Linked DNA regions of Homo sapiens: all the other regions are linked to region 4. Evidence: promoter capture Hi-C in 16 types of primary human blood cells and fetal thymus (Javierre and others, 2016). All regions are on one chromosome and are shown on one strand. Each heading gives the region's core, a stretch centred on a gene start or on the middle of the fragment in contact. The rest is flanking DNA. Distances are from core to core; before and after follow the strand shown. Region 1 overlaps SLC39A14 (solute carrier family 39 member 14). Region 2 has its middle 11 kb from the start of PPP3CC. Region 3 overlaps SLC39A14 (solute carrier family 39 member 14). Region 4 holds the start of PEBP4-AS1 (PEBP4 antisense RNA 1). Region 5 holds the start of LOXL2-AS1 (LOXL2 antisense RNA 1).

Region 1 (2,700 bases), core at 104-2,603, 500 kb before region 4:
TTTCCAGTCTGAACACAGCCCTTAGAAGTCTCTCCCAGAAACTGTAATAGATGTGATTAACTATACACAGAATTCCCCCAAACAATTGTTTGGTATTTTTGTCGACTTTATTTCCTTCTGATTATTAAAAGTAATGCATGCATATTGTAAAGTGCAAAAAAGTATTTGGGGGAAAGTCGATAATCCTGCTGCAGTCTCTCTTTACATATTGGCATATTTCCTTACAGTTGTTTTTTTTTTGGGGGGAGGGGATACAATTGGCTATCTACACCCATCTTACCTCGACATCAAAATTTCTCCCTAAGCATTTATTCTGCCTTATGGCTGTATCTTTTTTTTTTTTGAGACGGAGTCTCACTCTGTTGCCCAGGCTGGAGTGCAGTGGCACAATCTCGGCTCACTGCAACCTCCGCCTCCCAGGTTCAAGCAATTCTCCTGCCTCAGCGCCCCCTAATAATAGCTGGGATTACAGGCATGCACCACCATGCCCGGCTAATTTTTGTGTTTTTAGTAGAGGTGGGGTTTCGCCATGTTGGCCAGACTGATCTCAAACTCGACCTCAGGTGATCTACCCGCCTTGGCTTACCAAAGTGCTGGGATTACAGGCATGAGCCACTGCACCCAGCCATGGCTGTATCTTAGTTTGCTTAACCATTTCCTTTTATTTTAAACTTTTCTTTTGAACTAATTTTAGATGTACAGAAGAGTTGCAAAAATATAGCAGAATTCCTTTATATTCCTCACCCCAGAGTATAATTATATAATCAGGAGCAGGAAATCAACATTGGCATAACACTGTTAACTAAACTGCAGGCCTTATTTAAACGTCACCAATATTTTCACTAATGTCCATTTGCTGTTTCCAGGATCTGATATGGGATCCCACACTGTTTAGTTATTTCTCCTTAGTTTGCTGCAATCTGTGGCAGTCTCTCCCTCTTTTCTTGCTAGAATGTTGGAACGCAAAGTGATGTTGCATCCTTTAGAGGTATTCATCATGTCACAGTTTTTTGTTGTTGTTGTTAATTTTGAGACAGGGTCTCACTCAGTGCACAGGCTGGAGGGCAGTGGTGTGATCTCGGCTCTCTGCAGCCTCCACCTCCCAGTTTCAAGCAATTCTCCTGCCTCAGCCTCCCAAGTAGCTGGGATTACAGGCATGAGCCACCACACCTAATTTTTTTTTTTTTTTTTTTTGTATTTTCAGTAGAGACAGGGTTTCACCATGTTGTCCAGGCTAGTCTTGAACTCCTGAGCTCAAGTGATCCACCCACCTCAGCCTCCCAAAGTGTTGGGATTATAGGCGTGAGCCACTGCACTCGGCCATGTTGGAGTATTTTTTTACTGGTGACATTTATCTAGATTGGCTGGTGTCTGCTTGATTTCCACACTGAAAAAAGGTGGGTTTTCTGTTGTTGTTGTTTTACAAAAACTGAATGGGGCCAGGCACGGTGGCTCACACCTATAATCCTAGCATTTTGGGAGGCCGAGGCAGGCAAAGGCCGACGTCGGGAGTTCAAGACCAGCCTAGCCAACATGGTGAAACCCCATCTCCACTAAAAATACAAAAATTAGCCAGGCATGGTGACATGCACCTGTAATTGCAGCTACTCGGGAGGCTGAGACAGGAGAATCGCTTGAACCTGGGAGGTGGAGGCTGCAGTGAGCTGAGATGGAGCCACTGCACTCCAGCCTGGGCAACAGAGTGAGACAATGTCTGGGGAAAAAAAAAATACTGAATGGATAAACTGAAGAAGTTATCTTTCTTTCCCTTTGTAGTTTCAGGAGATACTTTGAGACTATGCAAATCCTGTTTCTCCTTGTACTTTCATCCCCTAATTTTAGCACCCATCTGTAGACCCTGCTTGCAACAATGATGACTGTGATGTTTGACTAATGATTCTCTATTTCCCTCTTGTACATTTATTTATTGGAATTCTTTGTAAGCAAGAGCTGGCCCTGCTTCCCCATTTATTTATGCATTTGGTTATTCATAATCAGATTTTGTTCTGTGGGTTAAAGTTGAATAATATTTTTTGAGGCTCAAATTGTTCTAGCTTTGACCATTTTGGGAGCTCCTTCCGGTTGTCTCCTGTGTTCTTCTGGTAAGCCCCTGCCATTTTTTTTTTTAAGTGTTTCCTTAATTTCCTTTACTACAAAATATTCCAGGCTCATCTTGTAACTTCGCTGCCCCAGCCCTAGAGTCAGGCACTTCTCCACGGAGTCCTGCTTTCCTTTATTGGAGAATGCTGTTTAGAAACCAAGGTCTGGTTGCTAGGTATGTTCATTGCTACAGCAGTTATCATTGCTTCTGGGTCCTCTCAGCAGACAAAGCTAGGAAACAGATAATTCAGCACCTATCTGTATATATGTATGCTAAAGAATATGAGTTTGTACTGATAACGCTTATTCTGATCTAACCTCAAAAAGTTCGTTTTATTTTAGTCTTTCCCTTTTCATGATGACTTCTTTCTCCAACAGTGAAAAACCCTCTCAGTCATTTTCTTAGTTGGGGTGAAGGTTATTTTCCACTGGTTTTGCTCCTATTATCGTGGCCCTGATTAACACACATTTCCACATGTGGACTATAGATTATTTGACTCAACTCGCCTTTGAGATGATAACATCTGGAGGCAGAGGCAAGTGTTTCTGATTTTACATACTCTGTGATTCTGCACCCAGAGCTGCACTAGGATGTACTGA
Region 2 (2,700 bases), core at 199-2,698, 450 kb before region 4:
CGGTTCATATGTTCTTTTTTTTTTTTTTTTTTTGAGACTGAGTCTCACTCCATTGCCCAGGCTGTAGTGCCGTGGTACGATCTCAGCTCACTGCAACCTCTGCCTCCCGGGTTCAAGCGATTCTCCTGCCTCACCCTCCTGAGTAGCTGGGATTACAGGCGCATGCCACCACACCCACCTAATTTTTGTATTTTTGGTAGAGACAGGGTTTCACCATGTTGGCCAGGCTGGTCTCGATCTCTTGACCTTGTGATCCGCCCAGCCTGGCCTCCCAAAGTGCTGGGATTACAGGCATGAGCCACTGCGCCAGGCCAGTTCATGTGTTCTTTTAACATTTTGTTTGAAATGGAGGCTGACTGCATGGAAGACTGCCTTGATCTAACTGATGATTTTGTTTTTTCACTGAAAAACTTAAAGCAGCCTTGTAAACTAGTTTAAATGGGAGAATCCTTGGAAAAGTGTTGATGTTTGGTAATTTTTGAGCAAACGAAGGTAAGAACCAATGCAAACTTACTTCCCCAGAGTTCTGCATTGTGTCTTTGTCTTGAAAAAGAACACAGAATGGCCAGGCGTGGTGGCTCACGCCTGTAATCCTAGCACTTTGGGAGGCCGAGGCGGGTGGATCGCAAGGTCAGGAGATCGAGACCATCCTGGCTAACACGGTGAAACCCCGTCTCTACTAAAAATACAAAAAATTGGCTGGGCGTGGTGGCGGGCACCTGTGGTCCCAGCTACTCGGGAGGCTGAGGCAGGAGAATGGCATGAACCCGGGAGGCAGAGCTTGCAGTGAGCCAAGATCTCACCACTGCACTCCAGCCTGGGCGACAGAGCCAGACTCCGTCTCAAAAACAAACAAACAAAAAAAGAACACAGGATTTTGCATCCATAGGAATGGATTCATGTCAATTCCATCATTGACTATCTGTGTGATCTCTAACATGTTTAACCTCTCTGCACCTCAATATTTTTATGAAGTAGAAATTATAATTTTATACTGCCTACCTTATAAGGTAGGTATAAGTATAATGAGAAGTAAATATGCAAAATGTTTTAGAAATTAAAGCTCTGTACTAGTAGTAATTAACATTTTGTTCTTTGGATTCCTTTGAGAATCTGAAAAATACATGATTGCTCATACACACTCATAGCATGTGTAAATATACTCCAACCTTTAATTTCATTTATAATTGGGAGCAGCATGGGGATGGGAGGTAGACGAGAAGGGAATGATCTCCTGAAGCCCCTGTGCCCCAGGTGAAAAACTTCTGCTGCAGACAAGAGTAAGATGAAATCCATTCATTCAACAAATTGTTGAGCTCCAACTCTGCCAAGCTTGGCATGACATAGCAGTGAAAGATCCTTCCCTTAAGGAGTGAGGGGAAATAAACAAAAACCAAGTGCTACAGATAAATTAACACGGGGGAGTGAGGTAGGGAATGGGCAGACAGGGATAGAGGTGATCAGGAAAGGGCTCTAACCAGATGACATCTGAGTTGAGCTTTGTGACTGTAGAAGAATGTTCTAAGCCAAAGGGCCGGCCAACGCAAGAATGCTGAGACAGAAATAAGCTTCATCTATTTGAGGCCAGTATGTGTAAACAGCAGAAACAAGGCCAGTCTGTCTGGACTGCAGCAGACATGAGGGAAGAAGGTTGGTGGGAGCTCAAAGTTGACAGGAGTCAGACCACTTCGGGAAAGGAGAAGACATTTGTTTTTGTTTGTTTGTTTTAGAGATGGGGTCAGAGGTCACTGCAGCTTCAAACTCCTGGACTCAAGAGATCCTCCCACCTACCTCAACCAGCCTGGCTAATTTAATTTTTTTTTAGAGACGGGGTCTCACTAAGTTGCCCAGTCTGGTCTCCAAGTCCTGGGCTCAAGTAATCCTGCTGCCTCAGCCTCCCAGAGTGCTGGGATTACAGGCGTGGGCCATCGCCCTTAGACCACAAGAGAGTTTTAACCAGAGGAATGACAAATCAGTTTTATGCTTTAAGTTTAGAAAGATCTGCTGTATAGGAAAATAGACGGTAGGGGGAGGAAGTTGACAGGATACAGTGTGTGGAAAGGCGTCCCTGATTCTAAATTTTTGGTCCAAGCAACTTGAATGCCAGTGCTGTTTACCTTGGTATCTTACCTGTGGAACCACCAAATGTGTTATGTACTGGTTGCCACCATTTTCTCCTGTTCTGCAATGATGCAAACAACAACAGTCACAAGCAGGAAGTGACGGCAGCTTTGGGGCTCCCAATTCTTTTTTTTTCGTTTTGGAGACAGGGTCTTGCTCTGTCGTCCAGGCTGGAGTGCAGTGGTGTGATCTCGGCTCGCTGCAAACTCCACCTCCTGGGTTCAAGCCATTCTCTTGTTTCAGCCTCCTGTGTAGTTGGGATTACAAGCCTGTGCCATCATGCCCAGCTAATCGTTGTGTTTTTAGTAGAAACAAGGTTTTACCATGTTGGCCAGGCTGGTCTTTAACTCCTGGCCTCAAGTAATCCGCCCATCTCGGCCTCCCAAAGTGCTGGGATTATAGGGGCGAGCTGCCGCAGCCGGTCTGGGACTCCCAATTCCCTCTTTTTTTTTTTTTTTTGATGGAGTCTCCCTCTGTTGCCCAGGCTGGAGTGCAGTGGCGTGATCTCAGCTCATTGCAACCTCTGCCTCCTGGGTTCAAACAATTCTCCTGCCTCAGCCTCCTGAGTAGCTGGGACTA
Region 3 (2,753 bases), core at 30-2,529, 470 kb before region 4:
GCCACCACACCCGGCTAATTTTTTCTATTTTTAGTAGAGATGGGGTTTCACTGTGTTAGCCAGGATGGTCTCGATCTCCTGACCTCGTGACCTGCCTGCCTTGGCCTCCCAAAGTGCTGGGATTACAGGCATGAGCCACTGCGCCCGGCCTATTTATTTATTTATTTATTTTGAGACGGAGTCTTGCTGTGTCGCCCAGGCTGGAGTGCAATGGCGCGATCTTGGCTCACTGCAACCTCTGCCTCCCAGGTTCAAGCGATTCTCCTGCCTCAGCCTCCTGAATAGCTGGGATTACAGACGTGCACCACCATGCCTGGCTAATTTTTTGTATTTTTAGTAGAGATGGGATTTTACCATGTTGGCTCAGCTGGTCTCGAACTCCTGACCTTGTGATCCACCCACCTCAGCCTCCCAAAGTGCTGGGATTACAGGCATGAGCCACAGTGCCCGGCCGATGTTTATTTTTTAATAGCTTTATTTCAGAGCATTTCAAACATATATAAGTAGACAGGGCCGGGCACAGTGGCTCATGCCTATAATCCCAGCAGTTTGGGAGGCCGAGGTGGGTGGATCACTTGAGCCCAGGAGTTTGAGACGAGCGGGCAAATATGGTGAAACCCCATCTCTACTAAAAATACAAAAATTAGCCAGGCGTGATGGCAAATGCCTGTAATCCCAGCTCCTCAGGAGGCTGAGGCAGGAGAATTGCGTGAACCTGGGAGGTGGAGGTTGCAGTGAGCCGAGATCGTGCCACTGCACTTTAGCCTGGGAGACAGAAAGACTGTCTCAAAAACAAACAAACAAACAAACAAACAAAAACTAGACAGAGAGTCTGATGAATTCCTATCTACCTGTCACTTAGTTCCAGTGAATATCAGCTCATGCCTGATCATGTCTCATCCACACCCGTGTGCTCATACCCCCTCCTTTATTATTTTGAAGCAGTCCCCAGATATAAGATGTCAAATCCATGGTTATTTCAGTACCTCTAAAACGACTTCTAAAAAATCATAACTGGCCGGGTGCAGTGGCTCACGCCTGTAATTCCAGCACTTTGGGGGGCCGAGGTGGGTGGATCACCTGAGGTCACGAGTTCGAGACCAGCCTGGCCAACATGATGAAACCCGATCTCTACTAAATATAGAAAAAAATTAGTTGGGTGTGGTGGCGGGCCCCTGTAATACCAGCTACTTGGGAGGCCTGAGGCAGGAGAATCACTTGAACCCAGGAGGCGGAGGTTGCAGTGAGCTGAGATTGCGCCACTGCACTCCAGCCTGGGCAACGAGTGAATCTCCCGTCTCAAAAAAAAAAAAAAATCATAACCGCATTGCTGTTTGTTTTTTTTTTTTTCATTTTTCAATCTAGTCAAAACTGTTGAATTTGTCCTTTTTATTCGTTTTTATTCTGTGCTTTCAAAAGAAGGGTTTTTCTCAAAGGCTAATTCAAGAAGGAGCAGAGAAGCAGAGACTGAGGGATAGTCTCAACATGTTCAGTGTGTGGCGGGCGGGCCTGGCGCAGTTGCCGGCACACAGGGAGAGGCCTCAGCTTCACCTGCCTTTTTCTCTCACAGGTTTATTCAGTCACCATGAAGCTGCTGCTGCTGCACCCGGCCTTCCAGAGCTGCCTCCTGCTGACCCTGCTTGGCTTATGGAGAACCACCCCTGAGGCTCACGCTTCATCCCTGGGTGCACCAGCTATCAGCGCTGCCTCCTTCCTGCAGGATCTAATACATCGGTATGGCGAGGGTGACAGCCTCACTCTGCAGCAGCTGAAGGCCCTACTCAACCACCTGGATGTGGGAGTGGGCCGGGGTAATGTCACCCAGCACGTGCAAGGACACAGGAACCTCTCCACGGTAAGGCTCCCCTGTGAGCCAGCAGCTCTGCTCAGCCCCGTCTCTGGCCTCTCAGGGTTCCCTGTCTAGTTGGGCCCAGGGCAGCCTGGCAGCTTGGCAGAGGTAGGATGAGGCAGACAAGTCTCGATGATAGAGTGGACAGGCTGATTCTTTCTCTCTCATTGTCTGAATCAGCAAATTCTGAGTCTTCTGCAGCACCTTCTGACCCCCTGCATAGGTGTTCTGAAGCCCTTAACAAAAGGCAGCCTGGGGCTGGGCACAGTGGCTCACGCCTGTAATCCCAGCACTTTGGGAGGCCAAGGCGGGTGGATTATCTGAGGTCAGGGGTTCGAGATCAGCCTGGCCAACATGGTGAAACCCCAACTCTACTAGAAATACAAGAATTAGCCAGGCATGGTGGCGGATGCCTGTGATCCCAGCCACTTGGGAGGCTGAGGCAAGAGAATCGCTTGAACCCAGGAGGTGGAGGTTGCAGTGAGCCAAGATCGAGCCATTGCACTCCAGCCTGGGCAACAGAGCGAGAATCTGTCTCAAAACAAAACAAAATAAAAGGCAGCCTGGAAGTGGGGTTCTCAGCCCCCCAGAATCTTCCTCAGCGCCGCACTTGAGTCACTCAGAAATACTGAGAAAACACGGCTCCCAGGACGGTATTTCTCATAGAGTTTACCATTGACAGAGTCCATTACACACTATCCCGGGTGAGCCCACAGTCCCTCAAGGTGCAGGTGAGATTATCTGCATTTTATAGGAGAGGACACCGAGGGTCCCGCAGTGAGTCCCTGCAGAGACCAGGGCTGGAACGCCAGGTCTTTGGATTCTGTGTTCTTTCTTCCATATCATCTCTGCTAATCAGACTCTGGGGCTATTTGTGGCAGCCAAATATAAGTCAGCCAGCAAA
Region 4 (2,700 bases), core at 108-2,607:
GGGGCACCTCACAAACGTGCTTCATCGATGACAGTGTATGTTTATAGCGCTTGTGTTGTTGTGAAAATAAACAGCACTTGAAGTGTAAAATTAGAAGTAAATAAATGAGTTAGGAATTATTTTCTCCACTGTTTAAACAAAGCTACTTCTCAGGTGGGACATTAGCTTCCTTGGAGCAAAGCCAAAATCTGGCTTGGTTAGCCAGAAAATGTAAACACATTTCTGTTAATGTTCAGGGTAGAAAGGAGAACCTCTCCCTTAACTGCTGTGTGAGGCTGGACTAGTTATTCAACCTCTCTGGGCCTTGGACCCTTATCTTTAAAATGAGGCTAATAGTGCCTCCTTCATTAAGTCTTTGCCAGGACTGAAATGTACATTTCATAGCATGATGCTTGGATCAGAAAAGCACTCCATATATATTAGCTATTTGAATTATGATTTGGGTTTCAGGGAGTTTATTCCACCCTTATAAACATATCAAGTGGACACCATGTTTTGGTCTTTTCTTTCCTCCTCAAACCAGGCTGTGCTGAATGGGAATCCTCAAACAGCCCTCAGCCTCAGGGATAAGGTGTCCCAGCCATTTCTACTGTAATGGCTAAGAGCCCTTTTTGTCCAGTCTCTCCCTGTCCTCAGTTGTCCAGGTGAGGACAGCTGACTTTGGAATAGAAAGATGATGGGGCTACGTGTCCTTATTGTGAATCAAAACGTCAGGTCCATGTTTTGATTCTGAGGTCAGAATCAAACCAACCTCCTGGTTGGTTGGCAGGTCCTTGGGACTTTTGTGCCTTCAAAATGTCAGGTTATTTGCCCTGACTCCAGTAGCCCAGCACGACCCAAGTACTACATTCTTGGGCAGAGCCAGCCAGAGCCAGGAGGCACTGACTTTGTCTCTCCGTAGCCAAATGGCTGGGAAACTAGCTGGGAGGAGAGGAGGTGAGGCCAGCAGCTTGTGAACACACGGGCGGGCTCACTGTTGGCAGCGGGGAGGAGGCTCCTGGGCTGGGCTGAGCCCAGCCACCCTCACCCCAGGGGCCCACCACCCCACCTCCCCACCTCCCCCTCCTGTTATGAAACCCACGGGGACAACCACACATGTGGGCAGCCGGGGGCTTTCCTCGAATTGACAACAGCTTCTCGCTGTCGCTCGGCAGAACATGAGCTGCTTACATAAACACTGCCTCAGAGACACCTGCAGTGTGGGACGCAGGGAGTCGGAGGAGGGTGGAGGGAGAGGCAGAAAGCTGCAGGGTGAGAGAACGGCTCCCCACCCCACCATGGAGGGGCCGTCTGTGCATCCATACACTGCACACGCGTGCGCAGACACACACACACACACACAGACACACACGAAGTTGGTTACTTTCTCAGCTGTAACCAGGAGGCAGGGAAGAAGGCAATGCAGTCCTCATTCTTTAGAGACTCAACCTGTGTCCCCAGCCCTCCCCACCTCCTCCCACACCCCCCTCCAAACTCAGCTTGGCTGGGAAAGGAAACTCCCCAGTCTGCTGTGCTCCTGCAAGCTGAGTGTTTGCAGGTGAATCTACTCCAGGTACAGGAGCAGCTCCTGAGGGAAAGGGGGTGGAGGGTGAGCATGGAGAGGGAGGGGGAGAGGGAGGGAGGGAGGGAGGGAGGGGCGGAATCCCTGGAATTTAAGGTTAGAGAATATAGTAGGGGACTGGCCTGGTAAGATGGTATTTGGGGGCCTCTACGGAAAACACATCCTGCAGGTCAGACCAGCATGGGCTCTGCGGGAGAGGGTGGAGGGTCAGTGCATGCTCAGTGGGAGGGCTCTGAGAGGTGGCAGGACCCGGCCGTGTGGCAGTGGCCTTGGGTTTCCAAGTGGTGCTTTCTCACTTTTCTGCCCGTCAGTTTACCTGACACACCAAGTGACTGAGATTGCTGCCTGTGAGTTACCCTATTGCTCATATCTAATCACAAAGCGCAGACAGGTGGGGAGGGCTTCCCTCTCCGGGCCTGGCACCTCTGGGTTTGGGTACTCTGGCCTCCTTCCTCTGGGATGCTCACTCGGACTCTGCTACTGGCCAGCCTGAGCAAGTCGGCAGAGCACAGGATCTCCAAACAGGGGTGCATTCCCTGGCTTCATCAGAGAGGAGGCTTGGAGCTCAGGGAACAGAGAGCAAACTGGATGTCTAGGCCAAGCTGGATGCCAAGGGGAAAATAGCCCTCCTTTTGAAAGTATTCTTGCATTTTAACTGTCATCACAGTTAAGCCACCACGGGCAGACCCTGGAGGCTGGAAGAGGGCATCCAGAATGATGTTGGGCTGGTTTCTTATCACAGAGCACCGGGTAGGGGGATGAGCTAAAAATTATAGTTCTTGTTCCCAGCTTAGCGTGGCTATGGGGCGGGTGGTATCTCCTCTGTGTTCCTTCATCTCTTTAGAGACTGAAAGAGAGGACAAGCCCTTCCCCATGGGAAACATTTTACTATGCTCTATCCTAATCTCATCTCAGAGCCCACTCACAGTGAATAGATCTCAGCTAGGAAGGGAAGCAAATATCCCCAGTGACGATGAAGACCAGACATGGAGGTTTAACTGATCTGTGTGAGGCCACAGAACGAGAGTGTGGCCTCAACGCTCTCAATGTTGACAGAACAGCACTCAACATATTGCATTGCGACATGTCTGCTTCTGGACTGCCTATCCCACCAGGCCGTGAGCGCCCCAGAGGTGGGA
Region 5 (2,700 bases), core at 84-2,583, 460 kb after region 4:
GGCGCGATCTTAACTCACTGCAACCTCCACCTCCCAGGTTCAAGGAATTCTCCTGCTTCAGCCTCCCGTGTAGCTGGGATTACAGGTACCTGCCACCACATCCGGCTAATTTTGTATTTTTAGTAGAGACAGTGTTTCACCGTGTTGCCAGGCTGCTCTCGAACTCCTGACCTCAGGTAATCTGCCTCCCTCGGCCTCCCAAAGCGTTGGGATTACAGGGATGAGCTATCACGCCAGACCATAAATCTGTATTTGGAGGTAGTATCCAAATTTATGCCAAGTCATATCATTGTAAGGAGGCCGTGGCAGGAGACCCCCTCACCCCATCTGGGTTCCCATGACTCTGGCCCTTTAAGAAGAGGCTAGAACTCTGGAGAAGTTGAGGTCTCCTGGGACCAGGGTGGTCTCGAAGTCCTGACCTCTGGTGATCTGGCCACCTCTGCCTCCCAAAGTGCTGGGATTATAGGCATGCGTCAGTGCCTGGCCTGTTGTGACAGTTTAAATGAGTTAATACTTGTCACTTAAAACAGTGCCCAGAGATAGGAAGAGCTACATAAGAGTTTGTGAAATAAATAAGTAAATAAATAAAACTGTATTTGTTAAAGAAAAAAAAAGAAGAGTGACAGGAGGGAGGGATTCCATGGTTGGAGTGATGGGAGACTTTACGGAAGAGAAGCCTTTAAATTGGGCCCTGAATGATGGTGGGATCTGAAACAAAGGAGGTCCAGGAAGGCCCTGCTACCTGCTCATGTCGACCCAGCTTTTCAGGGCCCGTGTGCTTGTCCCTGCACGGCAGGACCCAGTAAGATGCCAGAAGGAGCCAGCAGAGGGTACTCGCTGGGCAGGCTGACCCCAAGACAGGGCAGAGGCGAGGTCCCATCCCTGCTGGTCCAGCAGCCCTGGAAGTACCTCCTTTGTCTCAGAGTGAATGGGGTGTGAAGACAGAGGAAGGGCAAATCCTACAGACACAGTTATCATCTCTCCTTAACCCAAATCTGAGACTTGTTACAATTCTAGTGTGCTTGTGAACACAATGACACGGAATCTTGCTGAGGACTATCCTGGCAAATTCAGGGTGCGTGCTCACCACAGCGGCAGCCCAGGGCAGAGAACTGCTCAGGAGGGCTATTAATAATTCCAGGAACCACTGCCCTCCAGACACACTTCCTGCAAGGCCCCTGCACTTGGAAGCTTACAGCATGTTCCATGACGCCCACACAGGGGCGGGAGAAGATACTCGGGGGAACACCAGCTGCTCGAGGATTGGTCAGACCTCACCGCCTGCCTTGGCTCAGGAAAACCCCTCTGCTTCCAGCCGTCAGTGAGCGCCACCCTCTCCAGGAACAGATGTCCTGCGTTCTAAATGAAGAGTGCAGAGCCCACAGCAAACAACTGTCCCCAGCAGCCCGGATCCCTCTGACATCAGCCCCCAGGAATGTGCTGCAGACCCTCTAGCACGTTCAGGCCTCCCAGGGGATACCCTCCCCTCCCCTCCTCCATCCCAGTGTTTCACTGGGGACAGGCCTCTGAGCTGCAGACGGAGGCCCACGGAGGGTGGAAGACAGCCCACCCCGCTCCAGACCTGGAGACTGGAGGAGTGACTGGAGTGAGTGAGGCAGCCTTGAGTGGAGTGGAGCGGGAAGCCTGCCTGTGAAAGAGGCAGCTAGGCCAATAGCTGGACTGTAGGAAGAACACGGAGCTGGACTGATTCAACCAAGAGTCCTACCGACCGGTGCTCCCCTTGCCAAGAGTGAAGGCAGATGCCGTGGGATTCTGCCAGCTGCTGAGTACATCTATTTCCATGATGCTTTCCGGAAGTGGGGAAATAGCACAGAATGGGTTTCAGATGGACGTAAGCTAAAAACCCATAAGCCCCCACTTTGATGTTCTGGGTCTCCTAGAATTACTGTCAGCTCAGAACCAGTGGCCAGTAGTCCAAAAGATCTGATTATTTCCTTTTCTCCAATGCACGCTCATCCTGGTGAAAGGTGTCTTTGGAGAACTGGGAGAAAGAATACAGTATAGATTTCTGGCAGGCTACGAGGGTGCTTCCTTGAGGGTACCCAGCCTTTCCCTCATTCAAGAGCTTCCAGTCTGATAAAACTGGCTCAAGTACGGGAATGGATTGAGGGGTCATGACTCTACTCTGCTTTTATGATTTGGGATAGACTTTTGTTTGCTTGACCTAGAAGTTTTCTGCTTATACAGATTAAGTACGAACTTAGTAGGCTTCCTGTCTATTTCACTTCGAGGAACATCATGATCAACCAGCCAACACCACAGGTCTGCAGCAGTCAGACTGATTTCTGCTTTGACTCCACTGTCCAATAGGGTCAGCACGTCCACCTTGCCTTTGGTAGTACTACAGCCACGGGGCCCCCGCCACCCTGGAGCCAATTACTCCGGTCGCATTCAGGTTACTGGTTCAGTGGCTGCTGTTCCTGCTGTGAGGTCTGGCCTTCAGAGAAGAGTGATCACAGCTCCTCAAGGAGGCTGGAGCTCCTTTCATATATTTACTTCTCACCATCAAGGTGAAAGGCATGTCTTCAGGAGCTTCCCAGCGTGGGTGAGGAGGTCTTAAAGGTAAGATCCACTCTAACATCCAACCTCCCTAAGCTTTTGAATTCTGTCCTCTACACACAACAGAGGCAGGGTCAGCATTTCTACTCACTCACTGTGGGCCACACTTTGGTCCACATT

Evidence for each region. The method cuts DNA at HindIII sites, captures the fragments that hold promoters and counts their contacts. A CHiCAGO score of 5 or more calls a contact.
Region 1: a contact is called between a fragment that was not itself captured here and the fragment with the promoter of PEBP4-AS1 in region 4, in 4 of 17 cell types (naive CD4 T cells, activated CD4 T cells, non-activated CD4 T cells and 1 more). The highest score is 6.8, in naive CD4 T cells.
Region 2: a fragment that was not itself captured here is called in contact with the fragment with the promoter of PEBP4-AS1 in region 4 in 5 of 17 cell types (naive CD4 T cells, M0 macrophages, M1 macrophages and 2 more); the score reaches 6.5 in naive CD4 T cells.
Region 3: a contact is called between a fragment that was not itself captured here and the fragment with the promoter of PEBP4-AS1 in region 4, in 5 of 17 cell types (naive CD4 T cells, naive CD8 T cells, non-activated CD4 T cells and 2 more). The highest score is 7.5, in naive CD4 T cells.
Region 5: a contact is called between the fragment with the promoter of LOXL2-AS1 here and the fragment with the promoter of PEBP4-AS1 in region 4, in 4 of 17 cell types (naive CD8 T cells, total CD4 T cells, non-activated CD4 T cells and 1 more). The highest score is 10.4, in naive CD8 T cells.

What each region holds. Positions count from the first base shown.
Region 1 is chr8:22,375,161-22,377,860 of GRCh38, forward strand. All of the region lies in intron 1 of SLC39A14 (solute carrier family 39 member 14), which reads left to right. Among named protein-coding and RNA genes, the nearest start is that of SLC39A14, 9.2 kb to the left of the region's middle. The HindIII fragment of the contact is 5,847 bases long and covers 1-2,700 here.
Region 2 is chr8:22,428,428-22,431,127 of GRCh38, forward strand. It overlaps a transcript of SLC39A14 not described here. Among named protein-coding and RNA genes, the nearest start is that of PPP3CC, 11 kb to the right of the region's middle. The HindIII fragment of the contact is 236 bases long and covers 1,331-1,566 here.
Region 3 is chr8:22,403,126-22,405,878 of GRCh38, forward strand. It overlaps SLC39A14 (solute carrier family 39 member 14), which reads left to right. Exons shown (of 9, transcript NM_001128431.4): 2 at 1,571-1,855. The coding sequence starts at 1,586. Among named protein-coding and RNA genes, the nearest start is that of PPP3CC, 37 kb to the right of the region's middle. The HindIII fragment of the contact is 5,831 bases long and covers 1-2,753 here.
Region 4 is chr8:22,876,615-22,879,314 of GRCh38, forward strand. It overlaps PEBP4-AS1 (PEBP4 antisense RNA 1), which reads left to right and starts at 1,358. Exons shown (of 4, transcript NR_125433.1): 1 at 1,358-1,537. The region is part of intron 3 of PEBP4 (phosphatidylethanolamine binding protein 4); the gene reads right to left. RefSeq lists a silencer at 941-1,010. The HindIII fragment of the contact is 10,906 bases long and covers 1-2,700 here.
Region 5 is chr8:23,334,875-23,337,574 of GRCh38, forward strand. It overlaps LOXL2-AS1 (LOXL2 antisense RNA 1), which reads left to right and starts at 1,334. Exons shown (of 3, transcript NR_038323.1): 1 at 1,334-2,583. The region is part of intron 4 of LOXL2 (lysyl oxidase like 2); the gene reads right to left. RefSeq lists an enhancer at 1,129-1,378. The HindIII fragment of the contact is 1,425 bases long and covers 1,190-2,614 here.